Regions from separate parts of the Homo sapiens genome. Here region 2 is linked to region 1. Evidence: promoter capture Hi-C in 16 types of primary human blood cells and fetal thymus (Javierre and others, 2016). All regions are on one chromosome and are shown on one strand. The core of a region is centred on a gene start or on the middle of the fragment in contact, and the rest is flanking DNA. Distances in the headings are between cores, read along the strand shown. Region 1 holds the start of ZYG11B (zyg-11 family member B, cell cycle regulator). Region 2 holds the start of SLC1A7 (solute carrier family 1 member 7).

Region 1 (7,546 bases), core at 1,421-3,920:
AGTGAGACCATGTACAAGCCACCTTTGTGAGACATTTTGCAGAAAAGAGAATGGAGAAATGGGGCAGTAGGTGGGGGGTCAAGTCCAGTCAAGAGAGGGTTTTTTTTTTTTTTTTGAGGTGGAGTCTCGCTCTGTTGCCCAGGCTAGAGTGCAGTGGCGTGATCTTGGCTCACTGCAACCTAAGGAGGGTTTTTTTGTTTGATTGTTTTAAGATGGAAGAAATAAAATCATGTTGCTATAGCAATGAGAGGTAATAGCAGAAAAATAGCGATGTAGGTGAGAGGAAGAATTGCTGGATAGGTGTCTTTGAGAAAGTGACGTGGTATGAGACCTAGTACTTGAGCTCCTCAAAGTGTCATCAATGGACTAGTGACCATCTAGAAATGGTTTTTCACCAGTTTGTGACAGCAATTCAGAATTAATATTTTGAAACTTTTATAACAATTTGACAGAAAAATGTTACGCGTGTTGGGTTTAATAATAAAAATTCTGCCTAGAGTAGTCAAATTCATAGAGATAGAAAGCAGAACAGTGATGGCGAGGGATTGGGGGAAGTTAGGAATGGGGAGTTATTGTTTAATGAGTACAAGCTTTCAGCTTTGCAAGATAAAAAAGTTCTGGAGGCCTGGCACATTGGCTCACGTCTGTAATCCTAGCACTTTAGAAGTCTGTGGCAGGAGGATTACTTGAGCCTAGGAGTTTGAGACAAACCTGGGCAACACAGTGAGACCTTGTCTCTACAAAAAAAAAAAAAAAAAAAGGTAGCCAGGCGTGGTGGTATGTGCCTGTAGTTCTAGCTGCTTAGGAGGCTGAGGTGGGAGGATCGCTTCAGCCCAGGAGTTTGAGGCTGAGTGAGCCGTGATTGTGCCACTGTACTCCTGATGGGTGACAGGGTAAGAACTTGTCTCAATAAATAAATAAATAAATAAATAAAAGAAAAAATAAAAAGTTCTGGAGCTTCTTGATGGGGATGGTTGCACAACAATGTGAATGTATTTAATACCATTGAACTGTACACTTTAAAATGGTTAAGCAGGTTTAAAAAATCTGGGCTTGCATTTTGGATGCTTGTTTTTAAATTTTAATTTTTTCTAGTAATTAATTTTGATTGTATTTTACAGAAATTTAGTTTTGTGATTGGGGATAAAATCTGGGTCTTTTAGCACAGATGCTTGAGAACTGAGGAGGATTTGATGTTAGCTAAAAGACAAATAATTAACTTGTAGTAAGGAAAGGAAGGCAGAGAGAGCATCAAAGCAGAGTTACAGGTTCGTTGGAAGTCATGGTGGGTGCTGGGAACTTGTAGATGTTCTTTTTGGTTTGTTTGATTTTCTTGTGAATTAGAAGCAAAATCATCAGCTAAATGAGATGAGGGAGGAAGTGTCGGAGGTTTGAAGAGACAGGAGACTTGAAATAGTTATGTAGCAAGGTGGGAGAGTGTGTGAAACTGGAGAAATGTGGTAGGGTAGCCACTCATTATGGCCTCTTGAGAATAATGATCTCAAATTTACGGGGAGTCAGTCAACCACTTTTGGCTTTTTCTCCACCCACTCCATTGCTGGAGTTCTGTCAGTACAAAGAAAGCAGAGAACGACTAGAGAAATGAAGGTAATACTGAAGAAATCGACTTCATGTACCTCATGTACTCACTTTCTTCCCCAAACAGCTTAGATTCTATTAGATTCCATTTCATGACGGACGATAGAATCTAAGCTGTTTCAGGAAGAAAGTGAGTACATAAGGCCAGCGTGGGGAGGAATAGCGAAAAGGTAGTTGGATCAATGGATTTGGGGTCTTGGAGTTGAAGTTTTTGGAGTTGGAGTATTATCAGACAGAGTGAGCTAGAAAGGAAGAAGGTTGTGGCCGGGCGCAGCGGCTCACGCCTGTAATCCCAGCACTTTGGAAGGCCAAGGCAAGCGGATCACCTGAGGTCAGGAGTTCGAGACCAGCCTGGCCAACATGGTGAAGCCACTTCTCTACTAAAAATACAAAAATTAGCCGGGTGTGGTGCCGGGTGTTTGTAATCCCAGCTACTCGGGAGGCTAAGGCAGGAGAATCACTTGAACCCGGGAGGTGGAGGTTGCAGTGAGCCAAGATCGCACCACTGCACTCCAGCCTGGGCAACAAGAGCGAAACTCCATCTCAAAAAAAAAAAAAAAAAAGAAAGAAAGAAAGAAAGAAAGAAAGGAAGAAGGTTGCAATGGGAGTTAGAGGATTAAAATTGAGATTGTAGAGAAGTTACAATTATTCGTATGAGCATGAGAGTGAGAGGCTGAGCCAAGAATGATCCCTAGAGAAGAATCTGAGAGGCCAGAGGATTGGAAGAATTAAGCGAATTTTGAAATAACCAAGAGTTATGACAATAGTAGTAATGAATGACAGTGAACCAGAAGCCCAAATCTTAGAGAATGATGGTGAATGACAGAGGAGTCTATAGGTGACCGAAGTGAGCGATGCTCTAATCTCTCGTCATGATGTAATATTTAAAGCTTTTCATATTTTGAAGGGATGCTAGGATTTGGGGGTGTGTGGCTCCTTTAAGGGCCTGGGAGGGGGAGAAGCTGGAGGTCGGGCTGGGGGGGGCGGGACCCCCTCGTCTGAGTCTGCGCATTGAGAGCGGAGGCGGGTCCAGGCGCGGGCTCGCGCGCCCGGGCGGGTCCTCGCGGGGGCGGAGTCTGCGCTCTGGTTCGGGCTGCGGCTGCGGCTGCGGCTGCGGCTGCTACTGCTACGCTCCTAGCTTGAGGGAAAGAGGCCGAGGCCTGGGCCAAGCCCGGAGCCGCCGCTCGCCGGAGCCTCCTGGAGCCTCCGCGCCGGCTCAGCCTGGGGGCGGGCTCCGGTCCGGCCCGCCGCCGCACCCAGGACGGAGGCTGCATGCCCGAGGACCAGGCCGGCGCAGCCATGGTGAGGGAGCAAGGCCTGCCCTAGCCGCAGCCGCCCGCCACCCTAGCCCCCGCCCGTCGCGCTGGCCCCTGCGGTCTTGCCCCTCCCTGTCTCTGGTGTCCCCTCGGGCTCCCTGCCTTTACCTCTCTCCCTCGTTACCGCCCCCTCGGTGTTCAGCTCCTCCTTCCCCATTCACCTGCTTCGGTGAACCCCTTTAGGTGACACCCCCTGAATCTCCCTTCTCCCCGATGACATCCTTTTTATCACCCCCAGTGACAGCCTTTTTCGCATTCCCTTTGTCGCCCACTCCTTGTCCTTTAACCCTAACCCTTCCTTTCTTTCTCCTCTATCATTTTGCCTTTTTTCCTCTTATGTGATTTTTACTTTCCCCCCTTTCCTCCCTAGTTTTCGCTGCTCTTCCTTGCTCTTCTCACCCCTCTTCACCATTTTATCTCCACTGCCCCCTTCTCTCCGTGTTCCTTCTCCCCTTCGTCCTCTTCCATCCACGTTTCCTCTTCCCTTATCGGATGTCCTCGCTCGGTTCGCCGTCGCAGCTGTCCCCATTTCCTTCTACGGGCTTCAGGGGTCTAAGCAGGAACAATTTGAGGACTGTTGCTTCCCGGGAGCTGTAGGGCGGGCAGATAGGGATTTATAGGTTTGCTTCTTCCTTTTCGTTTTTGGAGGCATTGAAGAGATCCTGGAAGCCTATTCACCTAGTGTCATTGCAAAATCGAAGTGGTGGTGTGTTACAGAGCAGTGAAGTGAGGGCCAGCATGCATACTGTGACCTCAGGAGAGATCTAGTCTTTTGACAGAAATAGCTAAAAAATGTTTTGAATTTTTTTTATTTTGAGCATCTTTTAATGTGGAGGTGCAGTTGGAGAAGTTTAAAAATACTTATTTACAAGCTTGGCTATTATTACTAAAAACAAATGATTTGTTTTCATTTGGAGGCAGAGACCAAGGGCATTTGAGGACTGACAATCAGGTTGGCAGGTTGTGACAGTCTCTTTAAACCTTCTAAAGAGTTCATTTGTTTTGCCCTGTCTGCCTTTAGTTGGGAGAACCTTATATTTGCAAATTTTCTTTCTGTCTGAAAATAGGTTGAGGCTTCAGTTGGTTTTTTCATTGAGTTGGGTTATAAGTGGTTTGCTGTACATTTATTGAAAACATTGCTCCATCATATGCAACAAGCTAAATTTTGGTCTCTGGGAGGAATAAGGCAAAACTAAGTCCTGATAATTATGTTCCCCTAGGAGGTTAGTCAGTTTCTTTTTTTCCCTCCAGCAGTTTTTTAGAAAAGTAATATACTATAAAATTATTTAATCTATGAATTTTCCCTAACTCACTCCTGCATTTTTAGTCTGTCATTTTCCTGTGTTTGTCTCCTTCACTTTCACACACTGTTGTTGTATGCTAACCTGTTTCTCCCTGTGGAATGTAAGTTCTAGGTAGCAACCGTTCCTTACTTATTATTCCAAGTGCCCAGGCCAGCTAGGTGCTTGAATGATTCACTTTATGGTCTCATTTCCCACCTGACTAATATAAACTTAAACTGAAATTTGAGGTAACTAGTGGACTACACAGAAAGAGTGAGTTTGAGAATTGTTGTTTGGAGACGATCTTGCTCTGTGGCCCAGGCTGGAATGCAGTGGCACAATCATGGCTCTTTGCAACCTTGAACTCCTGAGGTCAAGTGATCTTCCCACCTCAGCCTCACAAGTAGCTGGTACCACAGGCACGGACTACCGTGCCCCGCTAATTTGTAAAACTTTTTGTAGAAATGGAGTCTTGCTGTGTTGCCCAGTCTGGTCTTGACCTCCTGGATTCAAGCCATCCTCCCACCTTGGCCTCCCAAAGTGCTAGAATTACAGGCATGAGCCATCACGCCTGGGCAGAGAATCTTAATTTTGATGCAAAAATGATATTGAGTGAGGTATGATGATATACTTTTCAGAATAAAGAGCTATCCTACCTAAGACATTACACTGCTAGATTTTTGAAAGTGTGGGCCCTTCCATTGAGAATGAATGTATGAGAGGGAGGAGTTATGAACTCCCCTTTGAGGTATTTAGGATCTAAAAGTGTCCTTTGAGCTGGGCCTGAAAGTTGAATAGGATTTATATAGATCATTTTGGGAAGGGGAAGAATGCCTCATTGTGAATGTGAGTAGCAAGTAGAAAGGATCCCCTCACAGGGATTTTTTTTTTTTTAAGAAAGAAAGTAGGAAGGAATTAGGATGCATTGTAGGAAGTAGTATTACCCTTATATAGCATGGAAGGATGCAAGAATGGAGATGTGTAGTAGGAAATGAGGCTAGCAAGATACTGTCTTAGCCCATTCAATCTACTGTAACAAAATACCATAAACTAGGTAGCTTGTCAGCAACAGAAATTTATTTCTCAGAGTTTGGAAGGCTGGGAAGTCCAAAATCAGTTCCCCAGTGGATTCAGTGTCTCGTGAGGGCTCTTCCTAAGTCACCTTTTCACTGTTTTCACACATGGTGGCAGGGGCCAGGCAGCTCTCTGGAGTCTCTTTTATAAGGGCACTAATCCCATTCATGTGGGCACTAACTGGTGATCTAATCACCTCCCAAAGGCCCCACCTCCTCATACCATTACCTTGGGGGTTAGGATTCCAACATATGAATTTAGGGAGACAGAATTCAGACCACAGCAGACATATTAGGCATGATTATGTTTTAAACTTTGCATCTAATTAACTTGATTTTTCCTTGCTTGTTAAAACATATACACACAGAGTAACAGTGTATGTATGGGAGAGGTGAGGAGAAGGCAGAATATTAGCTTATTTTGAGCTAGGAATTATCAGTAGAGGCCACTTTCTCGTGCAATATTTTTGTAGATAATAAATACAGTTGAATGAATGATTATTATAAAGCTTTGTATTTTATATTTGTTAAATGTTAATTAGGTTGTGTTTGAATAGTTGAGATGTTTAAGATGTCAGGAGTTCGAGACCAGCCTGGCCAACATGGCAAAGCCTCGTCTCTACTAAAAATACAAAAATTAGCTGGGTGTGGTGGCACATGCCTGTAATCCCAGCTACTCGGGAGGCTGAGGTAGGAGAATCACTTGAACCCAGGAGGTGGAGGTTGCAGTGAACTGAGGGCAGGGCCTGAGAGGTGGCAGTTCTTTTTTTTTTGAGGCAGGGTCTTGCTCTGTCCCTAAGCTGAAGTGCAGTGGCATGATCACAGCTCACTGCAGCCTTGACTTCCCAGGCTCAAGCGATCCTCTCACCTCAGCCTCCCAAGTAGCTGGGACCACAGGTGCCCATCATCACACCTGGCTAATTTTTATATGTTTTGCAGAGATGGGGTTTCGCCATGTTGCCTAGGCTGGCCTCAAACTCCTGGGCTCCAGTGATCCTCCTGCCTCAGCCTCCCAGAGTGCTGGAATTATAGACGTGAACTACTACAAAAGTTTGCATTTCTGTCAAAACCCACATAATGCTGATGCTGCTGGTCTGTGAACCACAATTTGAGAACTACTGGTCTAAGACATAGTCCTTACTTTTAATTAATCTAATAATGTTTTTGGAGTGTCTTTGACTGTGTTGACACTGGGGAAATGACAGATAGTAAAATAGATGTGACCTCTGGCATTTTTCATCTCATGTATATAGAGTAATTTTATTTTATTATGTATTTATTTATTTATTTTGAGATAGGGTCTGGCTCTGCCGCCTAGACTGGAGTGCAGCGGCGTGATTACGGCTCATTGCAGCCTCAAACCCCTAGGCTCAAGCAGTCCTTCCAGCTCAGCCTCCCAAGTAAAGCTAGGACTTCAAGTGTGCTCTATTATGTGCAGCTGATTTTTTGTTTTTGTGTAGAGAAGAGATCTCCCTGTGTTGGCCAGGCTGGTACCAAACTTCTGGCCTCCAGGGATCTTCCCGCTTTGGCCTCCCAAAGTGCTGGGATTACAGGCACAAGCCACTGCATCCAGCCTTCATACAGTAATTTTAAATGTGAAGAGTTTTAATATATCTTGAGTGTGCTGAAAAAGGACAAGTTGATAGCTGGGCATGGTGGTGCATGCCTGTAGTACCATCTGCTCTAAAGCCTGAGGTGGGAGGCTCACTTGAGCCCAGCAGTTCAAGGCTGCATTGAGTTATGATCATGCCACTGCACTCCAGCCTGGGCAACAGAGCGAGACCTCATTAAAAAAAAAAAAAAATAGAAAGGAAAGAAAAGAGAAGTTGTGGAATAATGGAATGGAATAGTTAGGAGTAGCTTTGCAGAGGGTCTTACTTTCAAGTAGAGAACTGAGGGATTAAATTGTAGGAGTTATGTAAAGAATAGTCCAGATAGGCTGGGTGCAGTGGCTCATGCCTGTAATCCCAGCAGTTTGGGAGGCCGAGGTGGGTGAATCACCTGAGGTCAGGAGTTCAAGACCAGCCTGACCAATATGGAGAAACCCCGTCTCTACTAAAAATGCAAAAATAAGCTGTGCATGGTGGCAGGTGCCTGTAATCCCAGCTACTCGGGAGGCTGAGGCAGGAGAATTGCTTGAACCCGGGAGGTGGAGGCTGCAGTGTGAGCTGCGATTGTGCCACTGCACTCCAGCCTGGGCAACAGAGTGAGGCTCCATCTCAAAAAAAAAGAAAAAAAAAAAAAAGAGTCCAGACAGAAGGAGCAGCATGTGCAA
Region 2 (7,546 bases), core at 2,927-5,426, 420 kb after region 1:
TTCTATTTTCATTTATTTTTGTTCTAGTTTCTGGGAGATTTCTACAACTTTATCCCAGTTATTGACATTAATTTTTTTTTTTTTTTTGGAGATGGGGTCTCACACCATGTTGCCCAGGCTGGCCCTGAATGCCTGGGGTCAGGCAATCCACCCGCCTTGGCCTCCCAAAGTGCTAGGATTACAGGCATGAGCCACCAGGCCTAGCCAAAGTTTTTATATTAATATATAATATTTGTACATATTTATGGGATACAGTTGGTATATTGTTAAATACACTGTGTAATGTTCAAATCAGGGTATTCAGGGTCTCCAACACTTCGAGTATTTATCCTTTCTATGTGTTGGGCAGCTACTCACATTTTTATCTTAGTTCTTCTATTTTTAATTTCCCCAGATTCTTTCTTGTTCTCTGATTGTTCCTTCTTTTCACATCCCCTCTGTTGTACGGTAACTATATCTTCACTCGCAGCTCCAGAAAGCTTAAGAGGAGATTTACAAAGCTTCCTTCTCCTCCCCGCCTTGTCTCTGCTTCACTAGAGACCCACTTTTCTCTTTGTTTCTCTCATTAGAGACCCCCTTTTCTCTTCGTTTACTCTGTTTCACATTAGGAGCCTCCTCACATTTCTGGTGGCGTGGCTTTCTGCTCGTATGTAAGTTTGAAGCGCTAAACTTCTGCATGTATGAGTAGGGTTTGTCAACTGACGGCCCTCAGGGCAGGGTGACAGGTGCTGATCTGGCTTTTTCACTGGGGCTGGGTGGGATGGTAGAGGAGTCTCCTTTATAGCAGAATTTAGAGATCTTTTCTCTGAGGCCTCAGTGAGAGAAGTCTCTTCCTGCCTTTGGCTGAGGAATGACATGGTGCCTAAGCTCAGCTGACAGCGATCTGAAACCGTGCTGGGGACCCCACTCAGACAAGGATGTCTGTTAATTAGTTTGAAGTAGGTGCCTCAGCATGGCCCTCTCCCCAACACACACAGGGGTGGCCCAATACCCTCAAGTCCAGCTTCTCTGGTTCCTTGGGGCAGGCAGTGGGTGGAGATGGGTGGATGAGTCCCCCAACTGAATTGGAAGGTCCCTAGGGGTCTAACTGCTCTGGTTACAAAACTCCAAACCATGCCCAGGCTTTCAACCCCAGCCTCACCCTGCCTAGTGCAGCATCTTGCTCTGTTACGTTCTGGAGTCTGCAAGACAAACTGACTTGGTATCAACTTCCACAGACTAAGATTCCAGCTTTCTGTGAATGAGGTCATCAGCTCCACCCACCTCCATATTATCTAATTTGTTGTAGCCTCTCTATTTCTTTTTCTCAACTGTCTCCTTTTATATTCTCTTTATTCTTGGTGGTTTTACCTTTTAAAAATCCCATTACTAAAATGTTAGTGGAATTCTAGGAAGGAGGGAAAAAAATGGATACACCTGTGATTCACCATGGTTTAACTGGAAGTCTCAAAATGCTCAGTATTTTTAAATGAGACACTCATACACCAAGATAAAATCCTGTGATTTTATCAAGGATAAAAGTTCTTTTTCACAAATAGAACATTCTACCATTTTCCATATTGTTTATGATTTTTGCCTGTTGCATAAGCTTACAAAACAAGAAGTGTTTAGTTTCTGAGTCACAGGCAAAGAGATCAAACAGAGAAATCCCAGATTTCAAAGTAAGATGCTGAGAAAGCCAGTTTCTGCCAAATAATTGTTCTAAGCCTCTACATCCTTCCTTCAATTTATCTGGCAGGTTAATCCAGACTGGAATACATTTGCATTTCCAAACAGATGGGAAAGGCAGCTTTGGCAAAGTAGGCCCCAGATGAGTTTGGCTTTTAATAATAGGCATTCCAATTTGTTTTCACAAAATAATCTTCCTGCAGGAGATATATTTTTGTTGCTGAGGAAAATTAAAGAGAACAGATTGCAGATTTTTTTGTTCCATTGCCAGTTTAATGCAGCAGATAGTTGAGCGTTCTCTCTGTGCCTGACACAGGGCTAGGCTCACGTTTTGGTTAAAAAAAAAAACAAACCCATATGTTGTTCAGCAATATGCAGCTTGGTGGGAGAAAGAGACACCCATATAACCAGCTCTGAAGCCAGGCAGCCAGCAGCGGGGTTACAGTTACTTTCATCAGCTATGGATGATGAGATGGTTCCTGATGTAGATAGGACTTTAACAGGTACATAAGGGAGGGAGGGGGAAGTAACACGTAGTAAGCACCTACTGTATGCTGGGCATTGATGAATCCTTGGTTTATTCCTCATAATAATTCTAGTAGACATATACTGCCCCACATCCCATTTTACAGACAAGGAAACTGAGGCCCAGGGAGGAGAGAGGATATTGCCTAGCCATTTGCTAGCAGAGTCAAAGTTCAGGGTTTCTCTGCCTCCAGAGTCCATGCTTCTTCCTAAATAACTGCTCGAGGCTTAACAGGGTCACTATAGTCGTGGCTCAGTTCTCCAGGAGTGGGTGTTTTCCTTTTAATGGAAGACAAAGTCTAATGCCTGACCCCAGTTGTAGAGATGGCATTAGACATTAGTGAGCTGCGGGAAGAGGACTTTCTGGGAATAGGGACTCTTCCAGGAGCCCATTGACAAAGCCTCTCTCCTTGACCACACTTTAGACAGGCTCCTCTGAGCCCTCTTTTCCACTGGGCTTTGTCCTTGGGCCTTGTCTTCAGCCTGCATAGTCCAGCTGTAGCAAAAGTCCTGCCAAGTCAGTTTAGTGAGGATCCCTCACCCTCCAGCATCCTGATACTGGATCAAATTCCTCATCCCAGATCAATGTCTGATCACCCTGGCCTGCCTTCAACAAGAATCCCCCTACCCTGATGTCTCCTGTAGTCATTTTCTGTCCCCGACCCCCTCCCTCTGCTCGCTGGCTATAAATCTCCAGCCATCTTTGTTGTATTTGTGGTTGGGTCCCATCTCTCTCCCCAGGAGGTCTTGATAACTACCCCCCTACCACAATAGTCCTGAATAGAGCCTTCCTTACCAGTTTAACTAGTGGCAGAATGATTTTGTCCTTAACACCATGGGAATGTCCCTCCCTCTCCTGTAGGAGATGGGGGCTGACAGGGAAAGGGGCTCTTTCCCAGGAAACGCAGCTTCTTCATGGCAGTTACACAGGCTGGAAACCCGGGGCCTGGCTCCCCTTCCTGTCCCCCAGCCCACATCCAATCGGCCCCCACATCCTGAAGCTCCCCCTTTTGAAAACAGTTCTCACGTCTGTCCCTTTTGTCTGCACTGCCGCATCTCCCCCAGGCTGCCCCTTCTCGGCCCCCTGCCTGCCCCAGAATCACCCCCTCTCCACTCAGCACCTGAGGGGTCTCCCAAGCTCCAAACTGGCCTGTCGCTCTTCTGCCCAAAAGCATCTCATGGTTGCCGCAAGCCCACGTGTGGCGATGGGACCTATGGGCCTGCTGGCCTCTGCGCTCCGGCCGCTGCACCTGGCATCTGCTGTCACCTCTGCCTAGAGCACGCTTCCTGGATCTCTTGTCATTTGAGCAGCCTTTAGGAGGTGTTCTCTGGTGCCTGTTTGAACTCACACAAGACCCCCCTCTTTCCCCGCCACAGCTCTTGGCCCTGTGTTTGTCATCATGAGGCACCCTCGCCTCTCCTCACCTGATGGTGCTGGGTTTGTAATCACTCCCCAGCCACATCACTGGTTCTTCCCTCTAGTCCTGCAAAGTGTTTATCACACCCATGTTACAGATGAGAAAACCAGGACCCAGAGAGGCAGAGGGATTCACACACTGTCATGGCACCAGGGAGCTGTGATGCTAGAACGGGACCCCAGATCCCTCAGGCCCACACGCCCCTCCTGGACAGGGGTCCCGAGATGCTCTGGGTGGCTGACCTGTGGTGAGAGGCGCCGGGTCCTCAAGAAGAAGCCGAGGAGGCAGCCCACGATGACAGACAGCACAGACAGGATGAGGAGTCCATTCCGCCTGCACACGTCCCTCCCCCGTGCCAAGATGGCATGCGGCACCATGGTGAGCCTGGCCTGCTGGCAAGGGGCACAGCACCATTCCACGCATGAGAGCCCGGCCGGGGGCACAGGGTCTGGGCTGAGGGCTCTAGCCCCTCAGCAGGCAGGTGGTCGGAGTTGCTAAACACCAGTCGCCAGCCCCACGGCCATGCCCGTGTGGCCGCCTTAGAGGGAAGCCACAATCCTATTACCAGCTGCATCATTAGGAGCTGGGAGCAGATTAGGGCCTGGGAAATTAGAGCAGACCACGTGGTCTAGGAGTTCAGGCCTCAAAGCCAAGCGTTCCTCTTAAACAGTTGAGTGGACCAGGTACTGGAAGGAACAAGAGGAACATTTGCTTGGTTGGTTTGATCTTTACCCCTGCTTCCTTCCAGAAAGAATCAAAAACAAGACAGTAAGATATCAGTTTCCCTCAACATTAATTAAGCATTTACTATGCACCAGGTGCCATTCTAGAAGAGTGTTACATGTACTGGCATATTTAATCCTAACACCAATCCCAAGAAATAAGTACTATTAATATCACCATTTTACAGATAAAGAAACTGAGGTGGGTGGGTGCATGTGCTGCGGGCCAGGCCTGTGCTGGCTGCCTTAGCTATGCCAATCATAGGGAATTGTCCCAAAGATCCCAGGGTTCCCACCTTCATTTTTCAGAAAGGGAGGCTGAGACCCCAGAAGCCAGTCCCTTGGCCATGGTCACAGAGGTCAGAAGTCAGGGCTAGGCCAGTCTGTTTCCACCACATGAACAGGCAGATAGGTTCAAGGGTGCTTGGCAGTATTGTGGGGAATGTAGATTCGAGTCCAGGGGACCTGAGTTCAAAGGTGGGCTGTGCCACTCACCGGGAAATGGGACGTAGATGCTTCAGGGCTGTTTCAAGCCTGGTGCTGGGCACCCTGCAGGCTCTCTGGGCCTATTATTTTTTAAAGATGACAGAGCCCAAGAGACCCACATTCGGGTCCCAGCTCTGCCACTTACTAGCTGTGTGACCTCAGACAAGCATTTCATCTCACTGTGCCTCAGTTTCTCCATCTGTAAAATAGAGATGATAACAGCATCTACTTTGTTAGGGCTGGTACAAAATTCCACCCAGAGGGTATTTGGAAACGCAGTGTGAACCCTGGTGTGCTGAACAGGGGAACGGACTCTTAGGGTCATTATCACACTTAGTGCTTTGGAGAATAGGTGTCTTTTTGCTATTTCTTGTGGCCTGGCCTGCCCTGCCCTGTAAAGCCTGGGGGAATTAACCCTCGTCTATTTCACCAGAGATCTGTAATCTCATTAGGAGCAGTCAGGCAGCAGGCAGCAGGGAATGGGAAGTGCAGTCTGCAGTGAGGGTGGGAGGTAAAGGGTGGGGTGCACACAGGGGCTTCCTCCTCCTGACATAGGAGACAGGGGCAGAGGATGAAGAGGACGGGCCAAGTGGGGCATAGGGGAGAGGTGGGGAGAGGGGACTGGGGCACAGGCTCTGAAGCCATGGACAGAGCTCCTGACTGAGAAGATTCTGATCCCAATTTAATCAGCTCTGTGACCTTGCCGTCTCTGGGTATCAGTCTTGTCCTTTTTAGAATGAGAGAAATGGGCCCAGGTACCTTTGTCAAAGGAACTTCATTTCAACAAACCAATCTTCCAAAGCCCCTGCTCTTTGCAGTAGCTTGGGGTGGGGGGTGGGGGTGAATACAAGTCTGAGAGTTTTTTTTCCTCTGACTTTGACTCTTAAAACCAAAAGTTTCTTGCTACACCTTCAACTCCAACAAATGCCTCATTTTCCAAATAATCAGGTGGTTAGTTACTTCCCAGAAGAGAAAATATGCTAAGTAGGTATTTGGATTTGGGTTTTGATCAACTCCTGGGCTCAAACAATCCTCCCATCTTGGCCTCCTAACGTGTTGGGACTGCAGGCATGAGCCACCACACCCAGCCCAGACCTGGCCTTTAGCTGTGCCATGATATAGGTGAGTCTTGCTTTCTACCACAGCTCCATGACTCCCATTCCCAGGACGTGCCCTATAGCCACCACTGACTCCTCTCTCCCACAGGCTGAGCCTACCACTACCTGCCTACCAGACTACAGCCATTCTTTCCACTGTTCCTACGGTCTTCAACAGGAGAATTTCAACTCACTCTAGCAAATGTTCTTATAGCACCATTTAGTGTGCCACACCCCCTGGGTACTAGAAACACAACAGTGAATCAGACAGTACCTGCCCTGCCTTCAGGAAGCTTATAAGAAAGTGGAGAGACCCCAAGAACGGACTAATTCACACTAAAGTGTAAGTGACTGATAATGAGTTTACTAAGAATATTTGCAAATCAAATCAAGTCTCCTGGGTCAGAACCCTATAATAGTTCACCATTGACAAAGAATCAACTGCCTTTTACAATGTCACTAGATGTGCAAGACAATTTTTCCATAATTACATCAAAAGGAAGTTTGGGAAATGCTGGACGAAACAAAAAGTTAAGCACGTTATTTCCTCTGAGACAGCTCAAAGTCAGACTGCTAGAGTTAAAACCTCAGCTCTACCTTCAACCAGCTGTGTGACCTTGGGAACATTTCTTAACTTCCCTGTAAAATGGGGATAATGCAACAGTACCTAGATCATAGGGTTTTGATGTGGGTCATACAGTGCTGCATGCGCCATGGTTAGAGCGTGGCCCAGTGCCTTGCAGATAGCCCCAGGTAGTTACTATGAAAGTCTTTACAGTAGCGGCTGTGTCGGAGGAAGTCACCAAGTGGAGAATAGAGAATCCCACCCCTCCTCTGGAGCAGAGAACTCCCTGGGCCTGGTGTTTGGAGAACACGCCTGGGAAACCCCGGTCTGCAGCATCGAGTCTATGCTCCCCTGCAAGGCACTTTCACCCTTTTCCTCACCCTTTCAGCATTACCTCCTACTCCTTCCGTCACCCCTCCAGCTCCTATGACACCAAACCACTGCAGGGTCCTGGAACGCTGCATCCTGTCTCAGGCTTCTGCACCTTTGCCTGTGCTATTTCCTTGGCCTAGAATGTCCTTCCTTGTCACGAAAGTTACAGGTTAAATCCCCCTCTTCTTCGAAGCCTTCCCTGATTACCCTAGATACAATACCTTCTCTTTTTCTCACTCTAACTCAGGCCCTTCACAGTCACCAGCTGGGGATTCACCTAGCTCCCTTTTAAGTGGCTCTGACAAGGAAATAAGAATCTATGAAAATAAAATCAAATCTCTGTTTGTTACCATGTCATTTGAAATCACCTCAATGGAGAATCCTCAAAGTTGGAGGGTATATTGGCAGGGGCAGCGGGGTGCTAGGGATAGCCTGAGGAGCAAGGTGTTGTATAATGGGCAGCAGGCGGCCTCAGAGATGCTTCTGGGGAGGCTTGAGCTGGACAGACTGAGATGCTATGGCAAAGAAGAGACATGGTGTTGGCGAAAATGAACGCCAAGTCACAGGTGCAGCTGCCTCACCCTGCAGAAGCAGGTGTGCAGTTGAGCTGTTCTTCACCGGGCCCTCTGCTTGGGTTATGCTGTGGGGAGAGCAGCAGGGGTTGACTTATTTGCTAATGATTAATGATTAATG

What was found. The method cuts DNA at HindIII sites, captures the fragments that hold promoters and counts their contacts. A CHiCAGO score of 5 or more calls a contact.
Region 2: a contact is called between the fragment with the promoter of SLC1A7 here and the fragment with the promoter of ZYG11B in region 1, in 1 of 17 cell types (endothelial precursors). The highest score is 5.7, in endothelial precursors.

What each region holds. Positions count from the first base shown.
Region 1 is chr1:52,723,783-52,731,328 of GRCh38, forward strand. ZYG11B (zyg-11 family member B, cell cycle regulator) reads left to right here and starts at 2,671. Exons shown (of 14, transcript NM_024646.3): 1 at 2,671-2,901. The coding sequence starts at 2,872. RefSeq lists a silencer at 2,482-3,061. The HindIII fragment of the contact is 1,298 bases long and covers 2,488-3,785 here.
Region 2 is chr1:53,138,462-53,146,007 of GRCh38, forward strand. SLC1A7 (solute carrier family 1 member 7) reads right to left here and starts at 4,177. Exons shown (of 11, transcript NM_006671.6): 1 at 3,854-4,177. The coding sequence starts at 3,988. The HindIII fragment of the contact is 4,621 bases long and covers 1,587-6,207 here.